2 separate regions of the Homo sapiens genome follow, and region 2 is linked to region 1. Evidence: promoter capture Hi-C in human tissues and cell types (Jung and others, 2019). All regions are on one chromosome and are shown on one strand. The core of a region is centred on a gene start or on the middle of the fragment in contact, and the rest is flanking DNA. Distances in the headings are between cores, read along the strand shown.

What was found. Contacts are between HindIII fragments. The study calls those that stand out against the background at their distance.
Region 2: the fragment with the promoter of SCG5 here is called in contact with the fragment with the promoter of KLF13 in region 1 in 1 of the 25 tissues and cell types used here (mesenchymal stem cells).

What each region holds. Positions count from the first base shown.
Region 1 is chr15:31,324,481-31,331,641 of GRCh38, forward strand. KLF13 (KLF transcription factor 13) reads left to right here and starts at 2,355. Exons shown (of 2, transcript NM_015995.4): 1 at 2,355-3,309. The coding sequence starts at 2,733. RefSeq lists a promoter at 1,480-2,536 and enhancers at 1,564-2,077, 5,187-5,751. The HindIII fragment of the contact is 14,180 bases long and covers 1-7,161 here.
Region 2 is chr15:32,638,202-32,645,185 of GRCh38, forward strand. It overlaps SCG5 (secretogranin V), which reads left to right and starts at 3,509. Exons shown (of 6, transcript NM_001144757.3): 1 at 3,509-3,577; 2 at 5,385-5,617. The coding sequence starts at 5,392. It overlaps ARHGAP11A-SCG5 (ARHGAP11A-SCG5 readthrough), which reads left to right. Exons shown (of 14, transcript NM_001368319.1): 10 at 5,385-5,617. It overlaps ARHGAP11A (Rho GTPase activating protein 11A), which reads left to right. Exons shown (of 12, transcript NM_014783.6): 12 at 1-1,740. RefSeq lists enhancers at 3,002-3,642, 3,643-4,281. The HindIII fragment of the contact is 11,081 bases long and covers 1-6,984 here.

The DNA.
Region 1 (7,161 bases), core at 1,105-3,604:
CACCTGCTCTGCTTTTCTGTTGCTTCCATTTGAAACGAGACGACCCAGCCCTCACATATACATATGCCATCTCTGTCAAAATCTTACTTAGAAAAGAAAACATGGACTCTTAGCTAAGAGGAGATTTTCTTTGGGGAAGAGCTGTCTGTCCGGAAGACCCTTCCATGTAGGTTTGGGATAAAGTCAGTGAACACCACGACAATCATCAAATGAGTGGATTTTTGAGAAACCAGCCAAGGAGCTCAGTTTTCTATACAGAATGCCACAGAGCACAGTCAAAATTCTTTGGGACCCACATTCTTGGAAAACTCTTAGGGGGGTGCATCAATGCAGAGGACCCTTGACCACGTAGGGCATCCCCTCACCCAAGGCAGGCCTGTTTTGTTCATGGCTGTAGTAGCCTAATACTAGAATAGTGCAGACTCTAGACGGCCTACCATTGTGTATGCCGGCTGGGGTGACCCAGTGGGGAGACGTGGCACCTTGAAGATTGGGGAGAATTCTGCTGGCTGGAAAGGGGCCAGGAGGGTATGGGTGGCTGATAAGCTGGTGTAGGACCACTCCTTCCTTAAGAAGTGACTAATTGTGACATGTGGTGGGAATAGAGGAACATTCCGAATCATTACTTGGTCAGGACACACGTCTCTTATTAAATGTCATCAACACAATCTGCCTGGAAGAAACACGATTACTTTCTACCAAGCACAGACCCTCCTAAAGGGACCAGACCCAGTCCAGCACCTTTAGTCTCCCCAGAGGGTAGCAACTCAATCAGCGAGACCGCATTTCAGGGTTTTAGTTACAGATACTGAGGGTGCTCAAACATCCATGCAGTTTGCTGTTCACCGTAACACGCAACCCAGAATGGCCGTTTCGGTCCCTCGTCGGTTACCTGAAAACCAGTCTTACTGAGCTCCAACCCCAAATTAATTTGGTGAGAACTCGAACTCGGCTATTAACCTTAATTCTGAGAGAAGAATGACACCCCCCTCCCACTGCGAGGGTCCACTGAGGGTGAGTGCCCGGGCTCCTTCATTCTCCAGGCTCCTCTCAGAACACAGCAAGGGTGGCTGACTCCTTCGAACGTCCATTAAGCACAATGCAACGGGGCGAGGCAGTAGGGGGTTTGCTGAGCCCGGTTCCGCGGCGGTGGGAAGTTATTCACCGGCGTCTCCGAGGACGGCCCAGGCCTGGAGAATGGCTGGGGCCGCGGGCTGGGGTAGGGGTTACCGTGAGAGTCAAGGGCAAGGTGGCCCAGCCCGGGCTGGGAGGCGCGGGCTGGGCGCAGCCGAGCATTTCCTCCGGGAGGCCCAGACAGCGGGCGGGTGGGGCGCGGTGGGCGGGGTCCTCGCAGCTGGTGGCGTTTGAAGCCCCCCCGACCGCGGTGGGAGAGGGGCAGCCTAGAAGAGTTGGCAGCGGGCCTGCGGCGGGATGGGGAGGAAGGGGCCCCGCGTTCCCTCAGCAGCGGCGCCGGCCGCCCTGGCACGTAGTTCGCTTCTGGAGGCACAGGCCGCGGTGGGCGCGCCACCCGGGCTGCCAGGCTCACCGCCAGCCGAGGCCAGTCCTGCTCGGGCTGACCCGAGCTGAAGGGCAGCGCGGCCGCACCCCGGACCCCAGGAACGAGCCCGAGTCTGTCCCTCCCGCGGGAGCTGCCCCGCCCGGACTCCCGGAGCTCTGCAAGGCAGGGGCGTGGGGAGGGCGAGCGGCCTGAGGCTCTAGGCGCGGCCACCCGGCAAGCCGGCGGCGGAGGGCGCGGCGCGAGTGCGTTCCGCCCCTAGGCAGCCCCGCGCCCGGCCGGGCAGACACGCCTCCCCGCCGGCGCCCATCGCGGGAGGAACAAATGGCGCCCTCCAGAAACCGCTCCCCTCCATGCCGGGGGCCAAGGCTGTCACCACATAAAAGCTCCGGCAGAGAAGTGCTCGCTGTGTCCCCGCCGCGGGGGGTACAAGCAGCCGCTCCGCGCCGCGACTACCCGGCCCGCCGCCCCCGGACGTCATGCGTCAGCGCGCCCCGCTCCAGTTTCCGCCCCTCCTCCCACCGGCCCAGGGGACACGCCCACTGGCGCGCGCAGGGCCCGGGACCGGGCACGCCCCTCTAACGGCTCGGATTGGCCTGGCCGTGCACTCACGGACCAATGGCGTCTGTCCCGGCCCTCGGTCACGCCCCCTTGCCCAGGCGCGGGCACGCGACCGCTCCGTTCCGCCGGTGCGCGCTCTGGGGTCCCCGCCCCCTCCGCGCGCGCAGCTCCCCGCAGCCGCCGCCGCCTGTAACCTGCGCCGCCAGGATGTGGCTGGGGGCTGACGTCGGGTCCAGATGTGGCCCCGGCCCCGCCCACCCCCGGGGCCGGGCCGCCCACACGGAGCCGCGGCGCGCACGGCAGCTGTCCCGCCTGCCACAATGCGCGGCGAAGCTGCGGCCGCGACTTGGCGAGGTGGTCCCTAACGTTGCCGCTCGGCATCCTTAGAACCGGCCGCCCCTGACGCCGCGCGGGGACCCCAGTCGCCCGCGCGCCCCATGCGCTCACTCTTCGGTGCCCGGCCGGGCCGGCGCCTCGCAGACGCGGAGCCGCGCGGGTGACGGCACAGGCGGCTGCGCGCCCAGCCCAGCCCAGCCCAGCCCGAGGAGAGGGCGCGCCGCGCCCCCGCCCCCCGCCCGCTCTCCCGAGGCCGTGGGTGCGGATGCGCGGCTGACGACTCGCAGCAAGAGCACCGCCGCCGGCCCCAGCCCGCAGCATGGCAGCCGCCGCCTATGTGGACCACTTCGCCGCCGAGTGCCTCGTGTCCATGTCGAGCCGCGCGGTCGTGCACGGGCCGCGGGAGGGGCCGGAGTCCCGGCCCGAGGGCGCGGCCGTGGCCGCCACCCCCACGCTGCCCCGCGTCGAGGAGCGCCGCGACGGTAAGGACAGCGCCTCGCTCTTCGTGGTGGCGCGGATCCTAGCGGACCTCAACCAGCAAGCGCCGGCGCCCGCCCCGGCGGAGCGCAGGGAGGGCGCCGCGGCCCGGAAGGCGAGGACCCCCTGCCGCCTGCCGCCGCCCGCCCCCGAGCCCACCTCCCCCGGCGCCGAAGGCGCGGCGGCCGCGCCCCCCAGCCCGGCGTGGAGCGAGCCGGAGCCCGAGGCGGGGCTGGAGCCCGAGCGGGAGCCGGGGCCCGCGGGGAGCGGCGAGCCCGGCCTCAGACAAAGGGTCCGGCGGGGCCGAAGTCGCGCCGACCTCGAGTCCCCGCAGAGGAAGCACAAGTGCCACTACGCGGGCTGCGAGAAAGTTTACGGGAAATCTTCGCACCTCAAGGCGCACCTGAGAACTCACACAGGTCAGTGGGGCGGCGCGGGCGCCCGGATCGCGCGGACGGGGTCGGCGCGAGCTGCCCGACCACGCCCCCGGAGTCCCCGATGGGGCGCGAGGTGGGGGCCGGGCGGGCCGGAACGCCCGGGGCCTCGCCCCTTCCCCTGCCGCTCCGACCCGCGGCTGGCCCCGCGCGTCGCGCGAGGCGGGTCTTGGCTCTCGGAGCCGGCGCCCGCCAGGCGACCGCGCCCCCGCCGGGCACGCCCCCTCCCCGGGCGCGCTCGGGTGGGGCCGCGGGGGCGGATATAGTCATCTGGGCTGGGGGCGGGGACCCCTCCCGGCCGGGAGGCGGCGCGGGCAGGTGCGGGCGGCCTGGGTGTGGACCGCAGGCGGCACTCGTGACGGTGGGGCGCCCGGAGCGGGGGCAGGGGACGCTCTCCGGGGTCCCTCCTCGTTTCCTCCCCCGCTGCCCGGGCGCGCGCTCAGGAGGGGAGGGGCCGGCCCCGGCGCGCGGCGGGCGAAGTTCACGCAGGGACAAGGTTTCCTTCGCCACTCGGCACATTCTTCGCTCTCTTCTTCCTGTAATTTTTCCAGCGCTCTAAGGTTTAATTTGTCGTAACCAAAGTCAGCGGCGGCGCTTGGCGATGCGGGGGGCGGTCCCGGGTCCCGCTCCCCGCCTGCGGCTCTTTGTGGGAGCCCCCGCCCATCCGGCCCGGCGGGGGCGCGCCCGGCCCTAGGCTCCTCGGCCTCGAGGCTCTCTCCGGAAAGGAATGCCCTGGCCGCTGCCCATCCTCCGTGCTGCCCTCTCGCCTGCCCACCTCTCACCTGCCCTGGGCCGGTGCGGGGCGGGCGGCACCTGCACCAGGGCGGGCGCTGAGCCTCCAGCCTGGGGATCACCGCCCGCCCCCGCCAGCCCAGCGGCAACAGTTCCCACGCGCGGCCCGATACTTTGTAGTTGATTCATCTGTGGCGGTTCCCTCCCCCCTTTTTGTTTCGTTTTTAACATAAAGATGAAAATATTTTAATGGACGGCAATCCTTCCCCATTTTGGTGTAAAGAATTGTATGCTTCCTCTGAGCTCACGTGAGTTCTTCTGTGACACTCACCTCTTCTACCTTGGGGGCAGGCTCAAAACCCGTCTACTGAATACTGTTGTCTTGTGACCAAGGGTGGTGGTCTCTCATTTGTAAAATAGTTCACATAGTGATTAAAAGGCATAAAAAGAAGCTGCAGCCTTGGATACCCTAGAGCTGAAGGCCCCTTTTTTTTACCATTTGGAACTGAAAGGGCCCAAGGTCTGCAGGTGAGGCTTTCAGATCTCGGACTAACTTTCCCCAGGGAGGCTTTTGTGGCCGCTCCAAACCACGTGGCAGGTGATGGGGTAGAGGGTGAGAGCGGGGCCATTTCTAGGCATTCGGGGTCAGTTAAGGGTGTGGGGGCTCAGGTTGGGGGTGGGAGTCAGTGTGGGCTCAGAGTTCAGCTCGGGACGCGGCTGCAGGGTGGGTGTGGCCCTGGGGGAGGGGCCAGGCTAGGCTCAGCTCGGCTCCAGGTGGATCCTGAGTATCGGGTGGGGGCAGCGATTGGGGCGTGGCTGGGGTTGAGATCCGCTTTGGGGGATGATGCCCGTGCTGGGCAGGATACTTAATGTTTGGGAAATTTTTCTACGGCCTCTGTCAGGGTGGCCTGCCACTCGGCAGCACCGGTAGCGGGGAATTGAGGAGGGGGGTGGCCGAGGGGAGGGGCTCGCCGTCGTGGGCGGGGCCGGCTTGTCAGGGCCTCAGCCTTGGGATGTCTTCCTGGTGGGTTCATCTCCCGCTTCAGGCTCTGGCCCCGCGCGAGCCTCTTGACTAGAATATTGGCGCAGGGGCTCTGGAGACCCGGGCCTCCCGCTGTAGGTGGGGCCAGTTTCCTCGGAGCGCCTGGAAACCGAAGGCAGGCAAAAGAGCACGGGACCAACCCTTTGAGTGTCTGCAGTGTGCTACAGTGCTCGTTCTTGAAGCAGAGAAACTATTCCACCCTTCAGGTGTGCAGACATCAGAAGTCCTACCTCCAGGGTGGAAGCCGGCCTCCAAGTTGGAAGTGCACAGGGCTCCGGCAGCGGGGTGGCGGGGAGTTGGGAAGAATGCAGATTTCCGGGCCCCTGATGCCGACCTAGTACACACAGTTCCAGCGTGCAGTTGGGAGTGCATGTTACCGGTACCCCAGGTGACCCATTATGAGAGTTGAACTGCCCAGAAACCTGCCTCTGGAGGGAGTCTGGTTCAGCATCTGGTGGAGGGCACCCCTGGGAAGCCCATTTCCAGCCCCTTCCCAGGTGTGCAGAGCATAAGTAACTGGTGTTCCTCAAGGGAGAAGAGGAGCTTGCTGTTGGGGGAGAAAAGAGCATCTTGCAGAAGGGAGAAACCCAGGCAGGCCTCAGGGATGACTGAGAAGGCAGGGCACAAGGTGATGGCTTTGCTGCAGCCGTGGGCTCTGAGGTGTCCGTGGTTTGTGGGCCTCTAGCAGCATTGTGGGGTCTCTGCAGTCAGTGACTGAGGTCATGCCGGGCCCCGTACTCCATTAGGCTCGGGAAGGTGCCCCCGCCCCACTTCCCGCATTTCCAGGATCCACAGTAATTTCATGGCAGAGGGTGAATATCACAACCAGGAAGGTGGCCAGCTGCTCTGTGCTGTTCCTCTATGTGACCAGGGACCGGTTCCCAGATCTCCCTGCAACTTGGTGATGTCTGCCCTGACCACCTGCAAAGTCTTCAGGGACATGAGGTCAAGTATGTGAAGACCCTTTGAGAAGTGCAAGGGTCAGCCTTGACTCTGGAGGCACTTGTGGTCCCTTGGCCGTGGCTCTGCTCTGATTTTCCACCCCCACTCTCTGAACAGCTGCATGCTAAGAGCTTTCTGTCCTGGTTAGCTGTGTAGCAGTGTGGTTTCCCACTCCCACTCTTCCAGGAGTTATCCTGTGGACACATTGGTCTCTGTCACATTTAGGTAATTGTTGATATTATAACAATGCGTAATAACACAAAACCAAGAAAAACATCTTTGCAGCTCGTGCTACTTTATTATTTGGCCAATTAGAACTTCCGAGTCCAGACCTGGAAAGTTTGCTAAGAGGGGCTTAGGGGAGCAGCAAGACCAGGAGCAGATTTTCTTGGAACCTGAGGTGCTTTGATGCAGGAATTCAAGGACTCACCTTCGATAGGTCAGGCTGGGGCCCTCTTGAGGGCAGACTGGTTGCCCAGATCCTGCCTCTGGAGAGTCCTGCGTGTTGTCCTGAATGGGGAGACTTGGCAGGCCCCCAGCAGAATGGCCACTTGGTCTTTCTTGGCAGAGAGACCCTGAATACATTTCTACCTATTTGTTCCCACAGAGAATTGTTTTCAAAACTGCTCTGTGCCCTGTTTTCCCTCCAGCGCTGGAGTCAAAACATCTCTCTGCATGCTGGGCCCTTTCTGGGTTCTGGGGGTCCCATGGAAAGGTGGGCACAGTGGCGTGCCCAGCCTTCCCTCCTGCAGAACCCGAGGCATGTTTGTGGTCACCTGGCCCTGTTTGGGGTGGAGGAGGGAAGTAGAGTAAGATCACATTCTGTCAGCCATTTCCTGTGATAATTTGGGTGGGGTTCACCTGAAATTTATCTTTACCCACTGAAGCAAGGATTTGATCCTGACAGATTATTGCGACCCCTCCCCCAGGGCACACTCTGGCTTTAGAGACTTGTTTCCAAGCACACCGCCCCTTGGGCTCCCTGCAGGTCCTCCCTGATGCTGCTGCCTGGGAAAGCAGAGCAGAGGGCATCTGGCAGAGCAGAGGGCATCTGGGTGGGATCTCCTTTACCCAGGGCAAAGCCAGGCTTGTTGGTGGCCTGTGCTTTGTTCAGAGACACA
Region 2 (6,984 bases), core at 2,259-4,758, 1.3 Mb after region 1:
TAGCTGGGACTACAGGTGCCCGCCACCACGCCCAGCTAATTTTTTGTATTTTTAGTAGAGACGGTTTCACCGTGTTAGCCAGGATGGTCTCGATCTCCTGACGTTGTGATCCGCCCGCCTCAGCCTCCCAAAGTGCTGGGATTACAGGCATGAGCCACCACGCCCGGCTAGACTTTACCTTTCTAAAGAAATTGTTTACTGGATTTATAAGAAGTTAATTTTTGAAAATGACATATTTTTGTGTGATAGAAAGAATGGAGCAAGTTGTGCCTATTTCCTCCAAGTCAGATAAGGTTTCTAAAATAAATAAATTTCTAGCATATAAAGGGTAGAGATAAACTCTGCAAATCTTATGTCTGGAATTATATTAATGTTTATTGTCCTTGCCAAAATTCCTAGAAATTAATTTCCTTCAATAGCATCCTAAAACTCTATTTTTATTTGGGGCAGAGTAATTTCATTTATAGTGCCAGTAGGTGTACCTTGTGTTCACTCGAACTAAGAACAATGGTTAAGGCAGAATAATGACTAAAATATGTTCATATATTATGATGTGGAAATAATTGATAACTTTTAAGCCATACTATGTTTTTAAAGATAATTTGCACAAACACGTTTGTGTCTGTTCTGTCCAATATAGATTTGGCAATTATTTAAAGAGGGATAATCTTGAAAAAAATTAACCAAGGTGATTTCTTATATGTAGATGCTCGATTTTGGAATTTGAAATAGTAGATGCACCTCTTTACCTTTTTTACTTGGATAAAAACCTATGATGATTTTGTCCTGTGTGTAAATGTTATTTATTTAGCATAGACATTAAAGATAACTCTCTGGAAAATGACTTGACTAAGGCTCTCATGAAATTCAAAGTGCCATTTAGAACATGCACCAAATTGTCAAGTAAATCTGTCTAAATTTATATTTTAAATTATTACAAATTACACATCTTTGAGGAAAGAGTATTATGAACAATAGAACATATTCTCTAGGTTGTAGAGGAAGGAATAAGCAGACAGAATCAACCACTAAAGGTAGTTTTTCAGATTGGTTGTTAGAATGTCATGTTTAGATGTTGGAGCAGATTAGAGCAGCATTCATGCCACTCGGAGCAACCAGACTTACAGCATAAGTATGTACGAGGAATTTCAAATCATCAGATGTTTGCTTGGCTAGGTTCTACTTTGTTTATTTGATATCAAATAGGTTTGTAGATGTTTATGGCATTTCTAATTGTAAGTAGAGACAAAATATTCATATAGTCAGATATATGTTGTCTGCTTTAAACAATTTTTAAATTTTAAAAATGCATTAACGTCTTTTTATATCCATCAAGGGAAGGATGAAATGTTGAATTTGAAGACTAATTCAGTAAGAAGTCCTAGGGGTTTAACTGTACATACTACCTGAACTGGCTTTTCTGAGAGATGAATCAATAATGAAACATGTCTGTTTTAAAAACTACCACATGTGACTCCTATTTTTGTTAGCTGAAAGCTGCTATACGGAGTATTACAGGAATGTGAAGGTGACTAGCTTGAAGGTAGGGTAACTAGAGAGCCAGAAAAGTTTTGTTTTAAACTTGATTTAATGCGTTTTTATTTTTTCTTATACAAAATAGAGATAATGTTGCTAACTTCATGGAATATTTGAGGAAATGATATGAAAGTGTCTGGACGTGCAGTAACCTCATGGGTTCTTCTCACTGTCTTATAAATGTAAATAAAGATCTAATATTAATTTGGTTATCTAATAACAACTTAATACATAGAACTTAGTAGACTGCATGGCCACATTCTATAATATGATCACTAAGAACTTAATGTAGGATTTTAATAGTCATGTTTTTCTTAATTGTGGCAGAATTTAAACCTTAATTTTGTGATCTTTTTTAGTTAGTTTGTTTTTTGTTTTCTTTTCTTTTTTTTTTTTTTTTTTTTTTGAGGCGGAGTCTCACTCTGTCGTCCAGGCTGGAGTGCAGTGGCACAATCTCAGCTCACCGCAACCTCCATCTCCCGAGTTCAAGCGATTCTTCTGCCTCAGCCTCCCAAGTAGTTGGGACTACAGGCATGCACCACCACGCCCAGCTAATTTTTGTAGTTTTAGTAGATACGGGATTTCACCATATTGGCCAGGCTGATCTCGAACTCCTGACCTTGTGATCCTCCCACCTTGGCCTCCCAAAGTGTTGGGATTATGGGCGTGAGCCACTGCACCTAACCTCTGTGATCTCTTAAATATATATGAAGTTTTATTTTTGAAACACCAAATTTCAAATGAAGCATAGGCATTTTGATCTATTTCAGTTAAATTTAACACAAAAGCAGTAAATTGTAGTGACTTCATTTTTTTCAACCACAAAATGAAGATAACAATGAACAAAGCTAAAGTAAAACTCAGAATTGAAAAAAGTCTCTGTGCATCAATAATAAATACTAACTCCAGCATGGCCAGTGAGCCTAGAGCCATTTAATGGATAGTGTTTGTCCTGTTGATTTAGCATGCATTGAAACAAGAAGCAAGAAGCAGATGAGCATCCGTGAAAGAAAAAGTACTGGGAAAGAGGCTTGGCTTCAAAATGAAAGGCCATGTGTCTCATAAATGAATTTTGCCAGCCTCTATTTATTGCATAAAAATTGCTGTAGATGATAATGGATTTGCTCTCTAGAGCTAAGATAAATAGATCTGGATTCTAACCTCATCAGGTTACTTGTTTTGAGACCCCCAGGTTCTTTACTCATCCTCCATCTTGATCAAATTTGTAGTGCCATATTTATTGTATGGCTTTACATTTTGATTTTAGTATTTGAACAAATTTCAGTGTTCAAGATTGCACATAGTAGGTGCTCCATAAACCCTTATTTAAGAATCTGGGACTACCTGGACATACTTCTACAGTATGCTGGGAGTATGGTTTCTCTTCAGGCCAAAGTGGAATTTTACTTGATGGTTTGTGTGGACGTTTAGAAATAACACTCAGAGCTGATATTTCTACAGATTTTCAAGTTTATCACTTTAATGGAAGTTTCTGGCTTCTTGTATTAAATATCCCCATAGTTTTCCTGATTAGTAAGAGGCCCCTCAGAGCAGGGTATACCTTATCATAGCCACCATTAAAAGTTCTTAGGACTTCATCTTTTGTCTCTCTACCATTCATTGCCTCTTCCCTCTTGAAGCTGAAAGGCTTTAGACACAAAAACAAAAAACATATTCTAGAAGTTGACAAAATTAAAGGTGTGCTGTAGTGGTGATCTGGCACGTTGTAATTGAGACTGAGGAGGTGAATGACTTACATGGAGGTCGATGGAGCTGAAGAGGGTCTCTAGGAAATGTCATAGTCAAGAGGTTTGTATGCAGAATGTGGGGGTTGAAGAGCTGTGCGGCTCCTGGTGAGAGGCACACTTATCTGGGATGCAGTCTGGGGAGTCCTGGCGAGGCAGCTTCCACCTGCTGGAGGAGGGGCCGGGGCGGAGCTAAGATGCGGAGGAGGGTGACGCACTAGCTCTCCAGTTCGCCCGTTCCTGGCCTGACCCCCACCAAGGCCCATACCGCAGTAGGCTCCTCGGGCTGCCCCTCGGTGAGTACAGTTTTGATGTCGGCTCGGCCGCCTGCCGCCAACCCGAGATTTGGTATTGCCAGTTGTGGGAGGGCGTCCTGCTAAAATCCTTGAGGTGGAGGCTGGGGTCAGACGAAGGATGCGTAGGGGATTAGAATGTTTGGCTATCAGTAAGGGGAAGGGAGTACTGAGGGAGGAGATTGTGTAGTTCATCAAATCAGAGCGGCGTTTGCTGGGATGACATCCTGCATTCAGAGTGGACAAGGGAAAGATGGAGATGGAGAGCCTCGTGTCTGCCTCCAGCCTTTTCCATCAGAATTGCAGATTTTGCTGTTAAACAGCTACTCTCAGCTCTTTGGAGAGCAAGGTTTTATATCTAGTGGCTAGAAAAGGCCTTTTCTTTGCAGAAAAAGAAATTGGAGGGTATAAAAATTTTTGTTTCAGTAAAGGAAATGCACGATTTTGCCTCCTCCCACCTCTCCATCCCCCATCCTCAGTAGAAGAATGATTAGAAGGAGGGTTTGCGCCGGTCCTGGTGGCTCACGCCTGTAATCCTAGCGCTTTGGGAGGCTGAGGGGAGGGGGTGGATCACCTGAGGTCAGGAGTTCGAGACCAGCCTGACCAATATGGTGAAACCCTGCCTCTATTAAAAATACAAAAATTAGCCGGGTTTGGTTGTGGGCGCCTGTAATTCCAGCTACTCGGGAGGCTGAGGCAGGAGAATCACTTGAACCTGGGAGGTGGAGGTTGCAGTGAGTCGAGATGGCGCCACTGCACTCCAGCCTGGGCAACAAGAGTGAAACTCCGTCTCAAAAAAAAAAAAAAAAAAAAAAAAAAAGGGTTTGCAAGGCCGCTGCCTGAAGCATGCATCCAAACACGTTAAGCAGCTGTGGGGTAAGCTGCAAGGATAATGTTCACTTGTTTTGCAGACATACCCATAGAAACCAACATTTTGGACAGGTTGACCCTCCCACCCCCAGGCTAGTTAACTCCCTCTCACCACCACTGCCTCCCCATATTCTAACCTCCAGAACTGTTAAGGCAATGTTAGCAACATAATAATAGCAATATAGGGGCTCATTCTGTGCCTGGCATTGTCCTAAACACTCTTAACATGTATTTGCACACACCCTCACAACAACCCTAAAAGGTAAATGCTTTAATTATCTCCGTTTTGCAGAGGAGGAAACTGAGGGACTTGCCTACGATCACTCAGCATGTGGCTGAGCAAACAAACCTCAAACTACCCCAGCAGATTGCAGGGCTGGATCTAAGGAACATTTTCCTTCCTTTCAGGATCGCAAACGTATTGGATGTTTGCTAAACTGAAATGTTTCCCTGCCACCACTCCCAACCTTCCTGAGCTTCTTGATTTGTGTCTTCCTGACTCCCTCCTGTTAGACTTTTATTCCCAGAGACTGGGAAAACCCAAGATGCCACTATCTCTTTCTCAAAATGTAAGCAAGTTTGGTTTATTTGTTTTAGTAAGAGAGGGAGAGAGTGATGAAGTTAGGAGTAATGCAGAACTTTCAGGGAGCTACAAGGAGGATAAAAATTATGAGTGAGAACCGCCATTCCAGCCTAGCTTTCTCAAGAATGCAAACAGAGGGAATTGGATACCTGCAACTGTTTTGTTTAATACCTTTCTGCAATGATGCTCTGCCTAGCATGGAAACTTAAGACAAAAGCAACCTCCTAAGGATTCTTTGTTACAACCCCTTTCTGGGTGGTCCTCGAACCACAACCTGGAGTGGTTGCATCATTATAATTGTATTATCACAATTGCCGATTGTAGCCTATCAGTATACATTTGGTCTTTTATCTGCAGGTTGACAATGGTCTCCAGGATGGTCTCTACCATGCTATCTGGCCTACTGTTTTGGCTGGCATCTGGATGGACTCCAGCATTTGCTTACAGCCCCCGGACCCCTGACCGGGTCTCAGAAGCAGATATCCAGAGGCTGCTTCATGGTGTTATGGAGCAATTGGGCATTGCCAGGCCCCGAGTGGAATATCCAGCTCACCAGGCCATGAATCTTGTGGGCCCCCAGAGCATTGAAGGTATTTACTGTGTTCTGATGGTTTGAAGTTTCCGTTAGCATTTTAAATAATATATTTGCACACTTCTCACAACAACCTTATAAGTAGATGCCTTTATTATCCTATTTTTTTCAGAGGAGGAAGCTAATTTTTAAGAGACTCTACTTTCTCATGGTTTTCCCTTTCTTCTTCTACACAGTGTCTACATACTTACATATACACACCCACATGAGACTATAAGTCCTGTGAGAGCAGGGACCTTATCTATCTAATTCATAGCTGTAGCCCTAGCACCTAGCACAATGTCTGGTACATAATAGGTGCTCAATTAATGTTTGTTGAATGAATGAAGGAGCATCTAGTGTTATCACTAAAGAAAGATTAGAACCCAGACATGATGTTTTCTCCTCACTGCTGATCTTCAGGAAATTGTGTCATCAGATAGCTGCCTTTTGAGTCAATGCCAGCCAGTACTTGTAAAAGAGCTTCAAAATGTAGAACCTACAGGATCTGACTTGATTCCTAGGAATGACTCCAGTATACCCAAGAGGAGACAAAAGAGGTACTGACATTAAGAGTTTACGTGAAAGCTTTTGAAAATATTTAAAAATATAACAATTTTATTAAATAATAAATTAAGAATAATTAAATCGTTTTAAGGTGGCAAGACCATTTTCCCCCTGAAGTTTTCCAAGTTTCTGGCAATGTGGTCATAATACTTGTATTAGAAAGCAGTACTTCATTTGTTTGTTGTTTAATGATTTGTTTATAAAGAGAATCTAGCTTCTATGAGCTGGTGATGCAGCGTTAGACAGATTCCTTATTTCCATGCTTTGCTTTTTATCCTCTGATTCTAATGATCTCCTTCTCCACTAAGGCAGAATCCTAAAGAAGTAGCATGGTTAATTTCAGTTAAATGCAAGGGAGCATTTCCTTATAGTTCAAGGATTTGCCCATGGAGTGGGTCCGAAGGAAAATGAGAATTATCTCTAAAAGCATACCAACCAAATGCTGTTTGTTCCCTACAGATTGATTATGCACTATTTTGCCAGAGTCTGTGATTTTCTAAAAATGCTATCTGCCCTAGGGTTCTGTGAATGCCATGAATATTGTTGATAGATGATTCTTATTTCTGTTTTGTTACCCATAGTTTTAAGCCATTGAGTAAAACTAATTCGGTGAGATTGTAGTCTGTTTAGGTTGACATTTGATTTCAGGAGTGGATTAACACAAATGCGTTGAATCGGCAAGCATGCAAACCTAGCACATGGCTTGAATTAGAACAAATCCGACAGAGCTTCCTGTCATCCCTTTTAGGGAGAATCTCAGTCCTTCTCAGCATCTGTCACCGTTACTTCAAGCACACCTATATATTTCAGGCCAGCTCT